Regions from separate parts of the Homo sapiens genome. Here region 2 is linked to region 1. The links are contacts of gene promoters, found by promoter capture Hi-C in human tissues and cell types (Jung and others, 2019). All regions are on one chromosome and are shown on one strand. The core of a region is centred on a gene start or on the middle of the fragment in contact, and the rest is flanking DNA. Distances in the headings are between cores, read along the strand shown.

The links. Contacts are between HindIII fragments. The study calls those that stand out against the background at their distance.
Region 2: the fragment with the promoter of BEST2 here is called in contact with the fragment with the promoter of RAD23A in region 1 in 1 of the 25 tissues and cell types used here (spleen).

What each region holds. Positions count from the first base shown.
Region 1 is chr19:12,944,180-12,947,977 of GRCh38, forward strand. RAD23A (RAD23 nucleotide excision repair protein A) reads left to right here and starts at 1,683. Exons shown (of 9, transcript NM_005053.4): 1 at 1,683-1,841; 2 at 3,669-3,798. The coding sequence starts at 1,770. It overlaps CALR (calreticulin), which reads left to right. Exons shown (of 9, transcript NM_004343.4): 9 at 1-310. RefSeq lists enhancers at 1,461-2,153, 1,565-1,784, 3,100-3,798 and silencers at 1,845-1,924, 1,935-2,124, 2,145-2,204, 2,176-2,470. The HindIII fragment of the contact is 31,996 bases long and covers 1-3,798 here.
Region 2 is chr19:12,749,814-12,753,878 of GRCh38, forward strand. It overlaps BEST2 (bestrophin 2), which reads left to right and starts at 1,978. Exons shown (of 10, transcript NM_017682.3): 1 at 1,978-2,026; 2 at 2,729-2,931; 3 at 3,447-3,541. The coding sequence starts at 2,780. The HindIII fragment of the contact is 8,475 bases long and covers 1-4,065 here.

The DNA.
Region 1 (3,798 bases), core at 433-2,932:
TCTTGCCTCTGTCCCCTTCTCTCATCTCTTAGCTCCCCTCCAACCTGGGGGGCAGTGGTGTGGAGAAGCCACAGGCCTGAGATTTCATCTGCTCTCCTTCCTGGAGCCCAGAGGAGGGCAGCAGAAGGGGGTGGTGTCTCCAACCCCCCAGCACTGAGGAAGAACGGGGCTCTTCTCATTTCACCCCTCCCTTTCTCCCCTGCCCCCAGGACTGGGCCACTTCTGGGTGGGGCAGTGGGTCCCAGATTGGCTCACACTGAGAATGTAAGAACTACAAACAAAATTTCTATTAAATTAAATTTTGTGTCTCCCTCCTGTGTCTCCTTCTGGGGAAAGACAGACTTAAGGAAACCCAGCAGTGGTCTTTTTGGGGGGGGGGGGGGTTTCCAGTATATCTCCTTTTTCAGCTATTGCTAGAGAGGTTGCTGAGTGTTCCACAAGATTCCAGGGACCCTTATTTACCCCATAACCCTCAAAACCAACGGGGGAATGGCTGTTGCTGCTGTAAATACTCCACATACTAACTTACTGAATCCTTGAACCTAACTGGTAAGTTTTGGTTCTGCTTATTTATTTATTTTTAAGATAGACTCTCGCTCTGTTGTCCAGGCTGGCGTACAGTGGCTCAATCTGGTTCACCCTGCCCCTTAAACTGGCCTTTTTCATGCTTCTATTCCTTTGGGGTCCTGTGGCTCAGCCCAACCCCTCTGGGATGCCTCCAGGACTGGTAGATCCAAGGGAGAATTCTGTATTTAATGTAGTGAGGCTTTGAAAGTTAACATCTTTAAATACTTCTGGGGTCAGATTAGGTATAGTACAACAAAGTACTCCTGCCCGGAGACCCAAGAATGAAAATTGTAGGTTCATTCCAAAACTCCAGATCCCTAAAGAATGAATGAGGCTACAAAATGGCACCTTGCCCCCGCTTCCAACTTAAGGTTTTTTTTCTGTGCTTGGTGGCCTTTCAGGTATTTCTAGTTTTGAGTAACTTTCACTTTGACTGCTCTACAAGGGTTCCTGCCAGGATACCCAGACCAGAATAAAACTCATTTGGGGGCCGGGTACGGTGGTTCACGCCTGTAATCCCAGCACTTTGGGAGGCCGAGGCGGGTGGATCACCTGAGGTCAGGAGTTTTGAGACCAGCCTGGCCAACACGGTGAAACCCAATACAAAAAATTATCCGGGCGTGGTGGGGGGTGCCTGTAATCCCAGTTACTCGGGAGGCTGAGGCAGGAGAATTGCATGAACCCGGAAGGCGGAAGCTGCAGTGAGCCGAGATCGCGCCACTGCACTCCAGCCTGGGTGACAGAGACTGTTTGAAAGAAAAAATTCTCATTTGGAAGAGGCAAAATGAGGTTTTTACAGAAGAAATACAAATGTCTGTAACCAGTACAGGTACATAAAAACTTTGTTAAAAATTCATTTGAGCGTGAGAGTGGGGACACCAGAGTCACTTTGCAGCCCCGTGACGTCACCGATAACGGGCATGGCGTCACTCAGGAGACCACGTGTGCGGGCCGAGCAAGAAGCCCCGCCCACAGCGCGGAGTTTAGTCTGCGCGTGCCTCGCTCGAGAACGCGCTCGTGCGCATGCCCACAAAGGCCAAGGAGGGAGTGCGCAGGTCACGTGCGCCGGTGGTCAGCGCGCGCATTGCCTGCCCCGGAAGTGGTCGGCGCGCGGCGCGGCGCGCCTGGGCGCTAAGATGGCGGCGGCGTGAGTTGCATGTTGTGTGAGGATCCCGGGGCCGCCGCGTCGCTCGGGCCCCGCCATGGCCGTCACCATCACGCTCAAAACGCTGCAGCAGCAGACCTTCAAGATCCGCATGGAGCCTGACGAGACGGTGCGGGCCGGGCCGGAGCCCGGGGGCGGGAGCGACGGGTTTCGGGGGTGGGGTGGGGGCGGGGAGGCTAGAATCCCAACGGGAGGGGCAGGGAGGACGGCGCGGGTCGGCCCTGCCCAGACCCCCGACCTGCCCGACTTTCCTGGACCCCCCGATGGTCTTTGGCCCAGCCCCCAGCCGATCGGGCGGCGCTCCTGCGCCGGTCTCCGGGCGAGGCCCCACCCCCGGGGCGCTGGCCAGGCCCCGGCTCCAATGTCAGCGCTCTCGCGGGGCGCGGGAGTCACAAGCTCGGATTCCTGGGCAGGCCAAGCTCTCCAAGACTGGGCTCCACGTTCCCAGCTTTGCAGGCGTCTCCTTGGGACACTGGTGGTCGAATCTAGGAGTAATGACCAGGAGATACTGAGTAGTGACGACAACAACGATGTTAATGATAATAAACGGGTCTCAGTCTTTATAATTTTGGTGGTCCGTGTTTGTTGGCCGTTTACTTTTTATCAGTCACCGAGTGTTGTAGTGTTGTTTTACCGCTCTGCAAAACGGGCTTGTCATTGGGGACCTCTGATCATTTTACAGATGTGGAAACCTAGGGATTGAGGAACTTTGCCACAGTCACACACAAGTAATGGCAGAGCTGGGATTCAAATTCGGTTCTGCCTCGTGTGAGCGTCCACGATATAAATATTATGCTGCCTTTTTAGTCAAAAGTAGAATTAGGACCTAATTCAAACATACTGAATGTCTATTGGGTACTTGGCGCTTTTTGCATAGTGAGGGAGACATTGAAGTCCACTTTTTGTAGAAAAGGAAACACACATTTTTTGATCCGCTCAAGTGTTTGGCTTTGGGCAAGTTAACCTGCCTACCTGTCTGTGCCTCCGTTTTCTCAAATATCAAATGAACCGGTCGCCTGCTGGCTTCCGCCTGTAATCCCAGCACTTAGGGAGGCAGAGGGAAGAGGAGCCCTTGAGCCTAGGAATTCGAGATCATCCTGGCAACACAGTGAGACCCCGTTCTCTACAAAAAAAAGAAACAAAAATCAATAAATAAAATGAGACCAATTAAACGTATTTCATAGGAAACTTAAAAGGTATGACACATATACATTTACAGTAGCACTATTGGCCAGGCACGGTGGCTCATGCCTCTAATCCTGATGATTTGGGAGGCAGAGGCAGGAGGATTGCTTGAGGCCAGGAGTTTGAGACCAGCCAGTCTAACATAGGGAGACTCTTATCTACAAAAAAAAATTATTTTTAATTAGTCTGGAGTGGTGGTGTGTACCTTTAGTCCTAGCTACTCCCAAGGCTGGACAAGAGTACCAGTTGAGCCCAGGAGTTTGAGGCTGCAGTCAGCGATGATCGTGCCACATCAATCCAGCATGGGCGGCAGCGAGATCCTGCCTCTTAAAATTAAAAAATATCACTATTAACTATTAGTCACTTATTGTCCAAGGTAGAGTGTAGAGTGGGGGACTGTCCCCTTTATTCTGTTAATTATACTTTATACTACCCGAAATTACATTTTCTTCACATTAGTGTTCTCTCATTGAGAGCAGGGACTTACTTGTGTTGAGTTTGTTCTGTGCTGTGGCCTCTGTGTCTAAAACAGCACCTGGCACATAATGGGTGTTTAGTATAAGTAAATACTGTGTTGAATGGCATGATGATTGAATGAATTCAAATCTAGCATGCTTTAGATGCTGAGAAAGCTTAAAAAACCCAGCGTGCTTGCCTTTCTGCCATCAGGGCTGGCAGTTTCTCTGTCCTAAACTAGAAGGGAAAAGAGAATCTTGGGGTCTCCAGTGACTGTCTGTACCACTCCCTCTAGGTGAAGGTGCTAAAGGAGAAGATAGAAGCTGAGAAGGGTCGTGATGCCTTCCCCGTGGCTGGACAGAAACTCATCTATGCCGGCAAGATCTTGAGTGACGATGTCCCTATCAGGGACTATCGCATCGATG
Region 2 (4,065 bases), core at 728-3,227, 190 kb before region 1:
CCGCGCCAAACTGCCAGGATCCAAATCCCAGCTGTGCTACGAACAAGATGAGATGTGACATCGGAGCCTCAGTTTCCCTACTTAGATAGTAAGATGACCAACTTAGCATGCCCGTAAGGATTCCATGAGATGAAACACGCAAGGCGTTTATACCAGCACCAGACAGGAAACCGCAAGAAATGTTTGTTATTTTTCGTTGTCACAATTAGTAAGCATATCAAATAGCCCAGGAAGCCTGCCCCCAGCCCCTGCGGGAATTCAGCAGTCGGAAGTGTGTGGGGATGCGGGTGAGCTGGGGTAGGGAGGATGAAAAGGAGGAGCGGGCTTCAGTGAATGCAAGGACACTTCCTAGGGAGTGAGGGCTGCTGATCGAGAACTGAGCTCATCAGCACCGAGCCTGCCACCGCCTTGCCAGGTTCCGCAGCTGACGGCACCGCCCCAGCTGCCCCCTCGCCCCCATTTATGGGCTGTCCGGCAGCTGGACAGCGAAGGCATGGGTCACAGGGTGACCAGCCCAGGCGGGTTCCTAATTACTCCGGGCAGGGTGAACATCTGCCAGTCTGGGAACACGGCGTCCCAGCCTGCTGGGCTTGGAACCTCGGGCGGGGCTATGTAGAATGCACGAGGGGCTCCTGAGCACTCTAGGATGCCCATCCCAGGGTTTGACCCCTGAACTTCTGCCCCTCCCACACCAATCTGTGTGTTAATGTTCTTCAGGCTGGGCAATGGAGGGGGAGTGGGTACTGTTTGTACCAGGCTGGGAGTGTCCCCTTTAGAGGTGTGTCTGTGAAGAATGAACATCTGCCCAGAATCCATGCCAAATGCAGGACAAGGTTTTGTGTCCCCAAGCTTGTGTGTTCATGGCAATGCTGAGAGTATCTGAGACCTGTGGGTGTGGGTGTGGGCCTGCCGCCGGGAGGGAGCGTTGGAAAGGGGGTTGCCTTCACATATTGGTGTACAAATGCTGGTGAATTTCACCAGCGGTGATAGCTAGGGGACCCTTGAGGGAGGGGTGGCTGTTGTGTGTGTCTTTGCAAGATTGGTGAACCTCAGGCCCCGCTCTGAGCCTGGGATTGTGTGCCACCGCACTGAGGAAAGGGTTTTTGCATTTGGTGTGTGATCATGGCTGCATCTTTGCACAGGGAAGATCGGGAGTAAAACCTCCTTGCAGTGGAGTATGACTGTGTGTGTGAAGGCATTCTGAGGTCTGGGTGGGGTCTGGCACTTGGCTGGTTGTGTGGGTGTCTTTGTTACATGGCGTGATCATGACGGAATTCAGACCGTTGGGAGAGCCGTGTGTATGAAAGAGGAGAGCCTAGTATGTCAGGGTCCACCTGCCTTATATATGCGTGATGGAGGCAGGAGGGGTCGAGGTAGGTGTGTCTTGTGTGACCCTGGAAGGTTCTGTGACAGTGTGTACTGCTCCTCTGGGTAACCATAGTTATGTGAGGCTGTCTTTTTGTTTTTTCAATAGAGATGGGGATCTCCCTATGTTGCCCAGGCTGGTCTCGAACTCCTGGCTCAAGTGATCCTCCCACCTAAGCCTCCCAAAGTGCTAAAATTACAAGTGTGAGCCATCGTGCCTGGCTGAGGCTGTCTTAAGAGCAGCTAGATTTGCTTCTGGGACTATGATGTGTGTTTCTGCGTGCATCTCTGTGACACTGTGTGATTACAGGTGACTGTGAAGTGACCCAGCCTCACTGAGCAGTGTGTGTGTTTCTGGGACTGGGAAAAAGACCATCCCTGCCTCCTCCCCCAACCTCTGGGTTCCAGATCCCTAGGACCTGCCAGTGAGCGACTGGGAGGGGAACAGGGAGGGGCGAGGGAGGACAAGGCGGATTTCTCCCCCCGTACCAGGTAACAAACTTGTGGGACTCCAAACAAAATTCTGAAGCTACAGCCTAGCCGAGGGAGGAGGACCAGGAAAGGGAGGCACGCCCACTCCCCAGCCCCACCCAACGCCAAAGCCACCCGCCCATTCCATCCCTGTCCCTGTGGGTCCTTGCACCGGCCACCTTCAACACAGGTGAGATGAGCCCAGGCTTGGGGAAATAGGGGGCCCTGAGGGAAGAGGGAACCTGCGGGCAGGAATGCATCCGGAGTCCTCCCGGGGCGGGGAGTGGAGGGCTTGGAAGGCTGGAGGGGAACGGAGAGAGGAAAGGTCAAGGCGGATCCGGGAGGAAAAGGGAGTGGGGGGAGCCAGGGCAATTAAGCAGAAGGTGCACAGGCTGGGGCAGGGGGGCTAGGGGACCTGGAGGCTTAGGGACAGGGCTTCAGAGGGAGTGCAGGGAGCAGAATGGGTCAAGACTGGGAGCTGGGGAAGTGGAGAAGGGGGAGCCAGAAATAGGGGCTGAGGGAGAGAATTTGGGAGAGGTGGAGCCTTGAGAACCTAGAAACTCAGGTGCTGGGGACTTGCGGAATGGGGCATGCTACAGGTGGCCTCTGGGTGAAGGGGATCGGGCAGAGGGTGACTCGGGAGCTGACTGCAGGGACTCAAGGGTCTTGGTGGTGGGGGACGGCAGTTACCAGAGCCCACGGCCAGGAGTCCAGGGAAGGGGACAGCCTGAGATGAAGGTCAGGGAGGGGCACTGGGGGCTGGACTAGACTGAGTAAAGCTGGGAGGAGAAGGCAACTCAGGCAAGGGTCAGGACTGAAGGGGTGGCGGGCCGGAACATGGGTGGAATCCCTGTGCTCAGTTATCCCCGCACCTCTCCACCCACACCCGCAGCCCCCACCCGGGCCACCCACTCTCCCTTGGCCACACCTGCCGGGTGCCACGATGACCGTCACCTACACAGCCCGAGTGGCGAACGCCCGCTTCGGTGGCTTCTCCCAGCTGCTGCTACTGTGGCGTGGGAGCATCTACAAACTCCTGTGGCGAGAGCTGCTCTGCTTCCTTGGGTTCTACATGGCGCTGAGTGCTGCCTACCGGTGAGGCTGCCCTGAGGTGCTCATGTTCTAGCGGAGGGGGGGCAGCTATTATATATATATAATATATAAAAATTATAAAAATATAGAGATATATAAGTATATATATCTATGTTTTTTAAACTGAGATGGAGTCTCACTCTGTCACCCAGGCTGGAGTGCAGTGGCATAATCTTCTCTTACTTCCACCTCTGCCTCCCGGGTTCAAGCGATTCTCCTGCCTCAGCCTCCCGAGTAGCTGGGATTATGGGTGCCAGCCACCATGCCTGGCTAATTTTTTTGTATTTTTAGTAGAGATGGGGTTTCACCGTGTTGACCAGGCTGGTCTCAAACTTCTGACCTCAAGTGATCCTCCTGCCTCGGCCTCCCAAAGTGCTGGGATTACAGGTGTGACCCATAGCACCCGGCTGGGGGCAGCTATTATAAAAGAAGCCAGGGTGAGGGGCACAGCAAGAGAGATCTGAAGCTGGGGATGGAGTCACCCTTGTGACCTGTGACCCCTCATCTCTATCCCGCAGCTTTGTGCTGACCGAAGGGCAGAAGCGCTACTTCGAGAAGCTTGTGATTTATTGTGACCAGTATGCCAGCCTCATCCCTGTCTCCTTCGTGCTTGGTGCGGTCCAACCCCAAGTCCCCCGTTCCCATGTCCCTGAGAAACCCATATCCATTCATGCCTTTTGAGGAGCCCCCATTCCTGCCCCTCTGAGATCCCCCCCCTCAAATCCAACCCCGACAGCACTGCCCACCCATTTTTGGATCCATATCATGAAGATGCCAGATGTGGCTCTACACTCTGAGACCTGGGGTGTCACCTGGGGTCACAGTGCCCCCTGAGGTGCCCCCAGGAGAGCTCCATCTCACACACAGGACTTATTCCTGGTCACCCTGGGGATTCTCACCAGTGTCTGTTGTGTTATTAGGGGGGACAAACCCCTAACCCTCCAGGGACCCCATAGGACTCCATCCTCTCAATTCCAGCCTGGGGGCATTTCTCTGACAAGTCTTGGACCCCTAGTGACCACAAGTGACCCTAGCCTGCCCAAGGCTCCCTGATGTAGACCCTGTCCCCAACCCCTTCAGAAGTTCCTGGCTCAGGGGCCGGGTGTGGCTACTGTGACAAGCCTGACCAGATGTCTC